2 separate regions of the Homo sapiens genome follow, and region 1 is linked to region 2. Evidence: promoter capture Hi-C in human tissues and cell types (Jung and others, 2019). All regions are on one chromosome and are shown on one strand. Each heading gives the region's core, a stretch centred on a gene start or on the middle of the fragment in contact. The rest is flanking DNA. Distances are from core to core; before and after follow the strand shown. Region 1 holds the start of ZNF653 (zinc finger protein 653). Region 2 holds the start of TMED1 (transmembrane p24 trafficking protein 1).

Region 1 (4,290 bases), core at 1,634-4,133, 670 kb before region 2:
AATTAGCCGGGCATGGTGGCAGGCGCCTGTAGTCCCAGCTACTTGGGAGGCCGACGCAGGAGAATCGCTTGAACCCAGGAGGCGGAGGCTATAGTGAGCCGAGATCATGCCATTGCACTCCAGCCTGGGTAATGAGCAAAACTCCATTTCAAAAATTAAAAAAATAAAATTAGCCAGGCATAGTGGTGTGCACCTGTAGACCCAGCTACTTGGGAGACTGAGGTAGGAAGATCACTTGAGCCCAGGAGTTCAAGGCTACAGTGAGCTATGATCATGCCACCATTCTCCAGCATGGATGACAGAGAGGGAGACCCCCATCCCTAAAAAAAAAAAAAAAATCGGAATTAAGTGCTGTTATCATCCCTATTGTGCATCTGGAGAAACTGAGGCACACAGGTACAGTGACTTGGCCAAGGTCACACAGCTTGTGACAGAGCCAGGATTTTGACAAAGGTGGGCTGGTTCTAGGGTAGTTCCCTCAGGGTGAGCATCCTAAAGATTGGTGGTTATTGCCAAATGGGACAGAGGGAGGAGGGGACAGGTTGGAGGGCCGTGTACCAGATCCAGGAGAGGTGTCCTGAATTCCCTGGTATCCCCCTTTCTGTTTCTCTGTCCCCAGTTCCTCTGTAGGGGATTGGGGGTTACAAGATTATATCCCTACTCTCCCTTGCAGGTTCCTTTGCCCAAAGACTCAACAGGTGCAGCAGATCCCCCCCAGCCCCACATCGTAGGTAAGTCCGAGAGCATGGGGGCAGCCAAGTCTCTAACCTTACCCAGGCCCTGCCAGGTTCTCGCTGGGCCTAGGCTGGGCTCCCTGGGCCTCTGGGCCGAGTCCCTTGCAGGGCACAGGGCATGTATGTCTCCACACCAGGAATCCAGAGTCCCGATCAGCAGGCCGCCCTGGCCCGCCACAATCCAGCCCGGCCTGTCTTTGTTGAGGGCCCCTTCTCCCTGTGGCTCCGCAACAAGTGTGTGTATTACCACATCCTCAGAGCTGACTTGCTGCCCCCGGAGGAGAGGGTGAGGGCTTAAAGCAAAGCATGTGTTGGGGCTGGGGAGTGGGCTGGCACTACCCTGAGGGTGCATGGGAGAGGCTGGAGGAGGGAGACCGAGAGAGCCCTGGCCTCTGACCCCGCCTGCACTCCCCACCTTGGAGTAGGAAGTGGAAGAGACGCCGGAGGAGTGGAACCTCTACTACCCGATGCAGCTGGACCTGGAGTATGTGAGGAGTGGCTGGGACAACTACGAGTTTGACATCAATGAAGGTAAAAACTGGGCCAGGTGCGGTGGCTCACATGTGTGCTCGTAATCCCAGCCCTCCTACAGGCTGAGGTGGGAGGATCACTTGAGCCCAGGAGTTGAGGTTGCAGTGAACTATTATAGAGCCACTGCACTCCAGCCTACATGATAGACCCTGTGTCAAAAAAAAAAAAAAAAAAGGCAAAAACCTGGACAGGCAGGACTTCCAAACATTCCAAACACCACCCAGGATGAGGGGCGGCCTCTGGGGTCAAGGGGTAGGCCCAGGCTGAGACGCAGTCCACTTACACCCTCGTCCTCCGGCCGCACACACTCATTTGCCCCAGGGGCTCCAGACCTGAGGTCACCCAGCCCTGTTGGCCCTTGTTCATTCCCTCCCTCCTACAACTCTGTGCTGGCTACTGGGTGTCACCAGGACAAACCTAGTCCCTCGAGTCAGCAAGGGAACAGGCAAATTACACTTTGGGGAGCTTAGGAGAGGAGCATGCCTTGAGTGGGGGGTCAGGAGGCCTTCCTGGCAGAATACAGAAAAACCAGGAGTCATCGCCCGGGTGAAGTGTGGAGTGGGCAGCCTAGGCAGCGGGGCTAGCTTGTGCAAAGGTTTGGAGGCACAAGAAAGTGGAAGGAAGCCGGGCACAGTGGCTCACGCCTGTAATCCCAGCACTCTGGGAGGCTGAGGCGGGTAGATCATTTGAGGTCAGGAATTCGAGACCAGCCTGGCCAACATGGTGAAACCCCATCTCTACTAAAAATTTAAAAATTAGCCCGGCGTGGTGCTGTGCACCTGTAATCCCAGCTCCTCGGGAGGCCGAGGCAGGAGAATCACTTGAACCTGGGAGGCGGATGTTGCAGTGAGCCGAGATCTCGCCACTGCACTCCAGCCTGGGTGACACAGCGAGACTCCGTCTCAAAAAAAAAAAAAAAAAAAAAAAGGAAGTGGAAGGGAGTGTAAAATACCTCAAAAAGGTGTAGGCATGGGTTAGCCGCTGCAGCCCCCACTGTGCAAACCTTAAGGGTGCATGTCTTCCAACAGTGGAGGAAGGCCCTGTCTTCGCCATGTGCATGGCGGGTGCTCATGACCAGGCGACGATGGCTAAGTGGATCCAGGGCCTGCAGGAGACCAACCCAACCCTGGCCCAGATCCCCGTGGTCTTCCGCCTCGCCGGGTCCACCCGGGAGCTCCAGACATCCTCTGCAGGGCTGGAGGAGCCGCCCCTGCCCGAGGACCACCAGGAAGAAGACGACAACCTGCAGCGACAGCAGCAGGGCCAGAGCTAGTCTGAGCCGGCGCGAGGGCACGGGCTGTGGCCCGAGGAGGCGGTGGACTGAAGGCATGAGATGCCCTTTGAGTGTACAGCAAATCAATGTTTTCCTGCTTGGGGCTCTCTTCCCTCATCTCTAGCAGTATGGCATCCCCTCCCCAGGATCTCGGGCTGCCAGCGATGGGCAGGCGAGACCCCTCCAGAATCTGCAGGCGCCTCTGGTTCTCCGAATTCAAATAAAAAGGGGCGGGAGCGCTGTTGGTTGTGCGCATGCGCAGTTTCCATTCTTGGTCTCCTTTTGGCGCCCTGGGGCAGCGAGAGACCGTGAGAAATTTCTCGGCGGCGCCGAAGATGCGCGCCACTTCCGGTCTGGCTCCTAACAACGGGGGAGGCTGGTAACCAGGGTGGGGGGGATGGCGGAGCGGGCGCTAGAGCCCGAGGCGGAGGCGGAGGCTGAGGCGGGCGCGGGCGGGGAGGCAGCAGCCGAGGAGGGCGCAGCGGGCCGAAAGGCGCGGGGCCGGCCGCGACTCACGGAGTCGGACCGGGCCCGGCGACGGCTCGAGTCCCGGAAGAAGTACGACGTGCGGCGCGTGTACCTGGGCGAGGCGCACGGGCCCTGGGTGGACCTGCGGCGCCGCAGCGGCTGGAGCGACGCCAAGCTCGCCGCCTACCTCATCTCTCTGGAGCGCGGCCAGCGGAGCGGCCGCCACGGGTGAGGGGGCCTGGCCCCGAGGGAGGGAGGGAGGAGACGCCCCCAGACCCCGCCGGGCTTTACCCCGCCCCCTCCGCTTCTAGGGCCAGCCCCCGGCACCTGCGGACCCCGCCCAGGAGCCGGGCCGGCGGCCTGGGTCTCGTACTGCCTGGCCGGGACGCGCCTGGCTCGTGGCCCCGCCTCCCATCGTTCCGACTGCCCAATCCTAGGGTGCACCCAGCCCCTCGACCCGCCTTCTGAGCGCTTGGCCCCGCCCGCTAGAACTCTGGCGGCCCAATCCTGGGACTGGCCCCACCTCCAGGCCTTGTAACTAACCAGGCCCTGGGGGGGCAGCCCCGCCCCCTCACCGGTCTCATCCTCCCCCGCTTAGTTCCCCACCTGGCCTGGGACTCTGGACACCCTGGGGCACTCAGCCCTGCCCTTCTTGAAGTTCTGGTGCCCCATCTGGGACTCCGTATGGCCCCATTCCCACAACCCTAGATCCAACACATCCGGGGGACCCTTCACAACCTGGACTGCACTCCCCTAAACCTATTTCTGTGAAGCAACTCAGCCCAGGGAGACTCGGATGAAGAGGAAACCCCTAGTTAGCTTGGCAGGTGGAGGGCAGAGAGGCCTGTCTTTGTAAATTCTCAGTCTTGAGAAGGAGCAGTGTGGATGGAGTTTTTCCCTTCCTGCCTTATATGTTGATGTGATGATTGAGTTAAAATAGGCAAAGAGCTTAGAAGAGTGCCTGGCAGGTAGTGGGTTCCCTAAGTATTAACTTTTACGAGGATGACGTTTATTCCGTATCACAAGCAGTGCCGCAAGGAAATCCTTGTTCTGCCCTGGTTTTCAGGTACACATGTTCTCATGTTTCTCTGGGGGGAGATTCTGAGAGTCAAGAATCAAACAGATCCTGCTAAGTTATACCCACCCCTTTCCCAGGACAGCAGGCTGGCTTATATGCTCAAGAGCAGGACTGGAAATGCTGGGAGCGCAAAGATACCTGCCTCATGGAGCGGACATTCTGGTGGGCAGAGGGGATGGCTTGTTCAAAGGTCTGGGGGGTTTTTT
Region 2 (4,738 bases), core at 1,882-4,381:
TGGAAGCTTGCACGTGGGAATGCTGGCAGCTGCACCAACAGAAAATGGCTACCTGGGAGCCAGGCATATCCAACACGGAGGCTCCATCTCCCCTTTTTTGCTACCACGTGTACAGGAACTAAGAAATGGGCAACATGGGGCTGGTCAAGGTGGCTCACACCAGTAATCCCAGCACTTTGGGAGGCCAAGGTGGGCGGATCATGAGGTCAGGAGTTCAAGATCAGCCTGGACAACATGGTGAAATCCTGTCTCTACTAAAAATACAAAAAATTAGTTGGGCGTGGTGGCAGGCACCTGTAATCCCAGCTACTGAGGCGGGAGAATCCCTTGAACCTGGGAGGCGGAGGTTGCGGAGAGCCTAGGTCACGCCACTGCACTCCAGCCTGGGTGACAGGGCAAGACTCTGTCTCAAAAAAAAAAAAGAAAAAAAAAGAAAAAGAAATGGGCGATGTGGCACAGCTCAGGTAGAGACCCCGGCTGCATAATAAAAGATTAGCAGATACCAGAAATTCACACCCTATGCAAATGGCACACCTGTTCTAACCAGTTTTTCATCCCCTATGTAAATCAGGCTAAGTCTCCTCACCAGCTCATCTATAAACCCCCCTGTATTTTGCTATGGACCAGCAACCCATTTTTCTGGGACTCCTCTCTGTAGCAGAGAGCTATACTCTCCGTTGCCTATTAAACGTTCGTTCTCAACCTCATTCTTTTGTGTGTCCTGGTCCTTGTTCTTCGTGGCTGTGAGACAACGACCCCGGGTGTTACTCAAGACAACGAGGCCGTTTCAGAATCACTGCTTAATGGGTACAGGGATCTTTACTGAGCCGATGAAAATGTTTTGGAACTACATAGAAGTCACTGCACAACACTGGAATGTACTAAATGCCACTGAATTGTTAATTTTAAAATGGTTATTTTTATTTTCTTTTTGACACGGAGTCCTGCTCTGTCGCCCAGGCTGGAGTGCAGTGGCATCATCTGGGCTCACTGCAAGCTCCGCTTCCCAGGTTCACACCATTCTCCTGCCTCAGCCTCCAGAGTAGCTGGGACTACAGGCACCCGCCACCACGCCTGGCTAATTTTTTGTATTTTTGGTAGAGACGGGGTTTCACTGTGTTAGCCAGGATAGTCTCGATCTCCTGACCTCATGATCCGCCTGCCTTGGCCTCCAAAAGTGTTGGGATTACAGGTGTAAGCCACCACACCCGGCCTTAAAATTGTTAATTTTATGCAATGTGAATTTTACTGTATTTAAAAAAATCAATTTTAGTAATCCCAACACTTTGGGAGGGTGAGGGAGCAGGCAGATGGCTTGAGCCCAGGAGTTTGAAACCAGCCTGGGCAACACAGGGAAACCTCATGTCTACAAAAAATTAGTTAGGCATGGAGGTGTACACCTGTAGTCCCAGCTACTCAGGAGGCTGAGGTGGGAGAATCACTTGAGCCCAGGAGGTAGAGATTGCAGTGAGCCATGATGGCGTCACTGCACCCCAGCCTGGGCAACAGAGCAAGACCCTGTCCTAAAAAAAATCCGGCCGGGTGCAGTGGCTCACGCCTACAATCCCAGCACTTTGGGAGGCCGAGGTGGATGGAACAGAAGGTCAGGATATCGAGACCATCCTGGCTAACATGGTGAAACCCCCTCTCTACTAAAAATACAAAAAATTAGCCAGGTGTGGTGGCACGTGCCTGTAGTCTCAGCTACTCGGAAGGCTGAGGCAGGAGGATCGCTGGAACCCCAGGAGACGGAGGTTGCAGTGAGTCGAGATCGCGCCACTGCACTCTAGCCTGGGCAACAGAGGGAGACTCTGTCTCAAAAAAAAAAAAAAAAAAAAAGGAAAAAAAAATTAAAAAAAAAAAGAAAAAAAAGAAAAGGAGTCACCCGTTCTCCACTGTTACTTCAAATTGTCCAAGCAGTGAGTGTAAATGATAGAAAAAGTTGGAGTGAAAAGGAATACCAAACTGATATTACAAAGAGCTACTTCCCCAAATTCTCCAAATGCAGGAAAGTGCTGACAACAGCCAGCTGTATTTGAGGGATCTTTGTCATCACCTGCCAACCTTTTCCGGGTTTATCTTTGAAGACTAAACATCTCCCTGTACACAGTTTATGTTTAGACGGGAACCAAATAACAGATTATTATTTACTGAGGGCCTGTGATGTCCCACGCACTGCGGAAGCAAGCACTCAACAAGCATTTCACGTATCCTAAAGACAGCCCAGTAGCGTAGGCCTATTATCCCCATTTTGCAGAAGAGGAAACTGAGGCTCAACAGAGGGAATGCCTCAAGTAATGGGTGGGGCAGGAGCTGAACCAGGCAACGTGGCTCCCAGTCCCACACTGTCCTTATCTCTTCCTACCTGGGCTGTCGTTTTTCTGACCCGAGGCTACTGTAATGGCTCTATTTACCTGCTGGCCCTTGAGTCTGAGACCCTTGGGGTGCATGGTGGGGCCACGCCCCTCCACTGTCTATAAGCCAGGAAAGCTGAGCACTCAATATGAACCAAGCCTCATCTCAATTCTCACAGCCGCACTACAGGGTGGTCGTTCCATCACTCCCGACTTACGAGGAAACTGATACGCTGATGCCTCTAAGGCGCAAAAGGCGTCGAACCTGGACCACGCTCACAGAGCAAGCAAAACACGACGCCACAGGTATCTCCGCCCCGCCCCAGCCCTTTTATAGGCGAGCCCTACGGGTCGCGTACAGGGCCACGCCTAGACGCTATTTTTGGGTCCACTCCACCACGTCGGTCCCGCCAAAGGTTGTCACGCGCGGCGCACTCTGGGAAAACCACGTGGAGGTGACTAAAAAGGACCCTGCCGCCTGTAACTTTAGTTGTCTTAGCTACTGCCTACAAAAGATGCGCCATCATGGCACTTATTTTTGTAATTTTCCTCCACCAGCGGCCGAGAAGAGAGCCGAAGCCTTTGAGAAAAATATTCCCAGACGGTTGAGTGTTTCTGGGCACATCAGGCATTCATTCGGGCCGCCTGCCCTCTAGTGGGGGGGTCCTTCACTCCTGGCACCTCTGGTTACGGACAACATACAGAAGCCACTGCCAATGAGCTCCGCCGAGTAGCACCGGGGCAGGGCTAGCGCTTAAAGGAGCCGCGACCCCTTTGCAGACCAGAGGGTGACCCGGATGATGGCGGCCGGCGCGGCCCTAGCCCTGGCCTTGTGGCTACTAATGCCACCAGTGGAGGTGGGAGGGGCGGGGCCCCCGCCAATCCAGGACGGTGAGTTCACGTTCCTGTTGCCGGCGGGGAGGAAGCAGTGTTTCTACCAGTCCGCGCCGGCCAACGCAAGCCTCGAGACCGAATACCAGGTAGAGGGTCGCGGGCTGGGCGGCCAGCAGAGTCAGGGAGAGGGGGCGTGGCCAAGCGGTCGAGGCGAGGCGCGCTTTAGGAGGAAGGGGGAGGAATCCGTGCTTGGGAGCGCGGGGGCGGAGCTAGAAAGAGATGGACAGATGGGGCGGGGACGGTGTGTGGGAGCGGAAGGGGAGGGAGTAATGAAGCAGGCGGGGCTAGAGTAAGAGATCCAGAGGGGGCGGGGCCATCGATAAGTATAGGGAGCCTCTGAGAGGACAGGACTCTGGCTGGTGGGCGTGGCGATAGTGCTGATAGGTCAACTGCGGGGGCGTTGCCCACACAGGCCTTTCTCGGGGGTTAGACTAAGGAAAAAGGCTGGGCCTATCCTCTTTCGGAGGCGGAGCCAACCAGGGGCGTGGTCAGGTAAACGTCCATTAAGTACTTTTGGTAGGTGCGTGGTCAGCTGAAAGTATGGACCCCAAGCTGTCATATCAATGAGGGTGGAGGCAAGGGGCGCAGCCACTGGGACAGGTTGGGGCGGGTGTGGGTGTGCCGCCGTTCAGGTAAGCCCTTGGTGGTCTGTATTGATCAGTGTTGGTTCAGCCGTAGCCCTCTTCGGCAGGCGCCCTTGGCCTACCGCTAGCCCTCCACCCGCTCTTACCTGCCCCCCAGGTGATCGGAGGTGCTGGACTGGACGTGGACTTCACGCTGGAGAGCCCTCAGGGCGTGCTGTTGGTCAGCGAGTCCCGCAAGGCTGATGGGGTACACACGTGAGTTCAGTCTTGATGCCTGCCTGGGTTCAGTTACAGCCCTGCCCTTCCCAGGCGGCCTCAGGTTACCGCCCTGACTGCCCCGCTGAGTCGGCTGGCTGGCCACCCTGGGTCATGTCTGTGTGTCTGTCTGCCCAGGGTGGAGCCAACGGAGGCCGGGGACTACAAGCTGTGCTTTGACAACTCCTTCAGCACCATCTCCGAGAAGCTGGTGTTCTTTGAACTGATCTTTGACAGCCTCCAGGATGACGAGGAGGTCGAAGGATGGGCAGAGGCTGTGGAGCCCGAGGAGATGCTGGATGTTAAAATGGAGGACATCAAGGTGTGTCCAGGCTGCGCTGGGGCCACTCCTTCCAGATCTCTAGGATTCACCTGGGGTGCCCCCCTTGGGCTGACCCAGCCTCCCCTCCGTAGTTGTGCCCTCCAACTGAATTATAGTAAGAGTAGCAGCTCTTAAAATAAGTAGTTCATTTCAGGCCGGGCACGGTGGCTCACGCCTGTAATCCCAGCACTTTGGGAGGCTGAGGCGGGTGGATCACCTGAGGTCAGGAGTTTTGAGACCAGCCTGGCCAACATGGTGAAACCCCGTCTCTACTAAAAATACAAAAATTAGCCGGGTGTGGTGGCGGGCGTCTGTAATCCCAGCTACTC

The links. Contacts are between HindIII fragments. The study calls those that stand out against the background at their distance.
Region 1: a contact is called between the fragment with the promoter of ZNF653 here and the fragment with the promoter of TMED1 in region 2, in 1 of the 25 tissues and cell types used here (spleen).

Annotation. Positions count from the first base shown.
Region 1 is chr19:11,504,432-11,508,721 of GRCh38, reverse strand. It overlaps ZNF653 (zinc finger protein 653), which reads left to right and starts at 2,883. Exons shown (of 9, transcript NM_138783.4): 1 at 2,883-3,234. The coding sequence starts at 2,936. ECSIT (ECSIT signaling integrator) reads left to right here. Exons shown (of 8, transcript NM_016581.5): 5 at 674-731; 6 at 872-1,020; 7 at 1,160-1,265; 8 at 2,294-2,793. The coding sequence ends at 2,538. RefSeq lists enhancers at 488-1,265, 3,718-3,787 and silencers at 2,688-2,737, 2,898-3,567. The HindIII fragment of the contact is 10,042 bases long and covers 1-4,290 here.
Region 2 is chr19:10,834,605-10,839,342 of GRCh38, reverse strand. TMED1 (transmembrane p24 trafficking protein 1) reads left to right here and starts at 3,131. Exons shown (of 4, transcript NM_006858.4): 1 at 3,131-3,334; 2 at 3,990-4,087; 3 at 4,226-4,409. The coding sequence starts at 3,152. It also overlaps a transcript of C19orf38 not described here. RefSeq lists enhancers at 2,857-2,956, 2,722-3,358, 3,996-4,633. The HindIII fragment of the contact is 15,983 bases long and covers 1-4,738 here.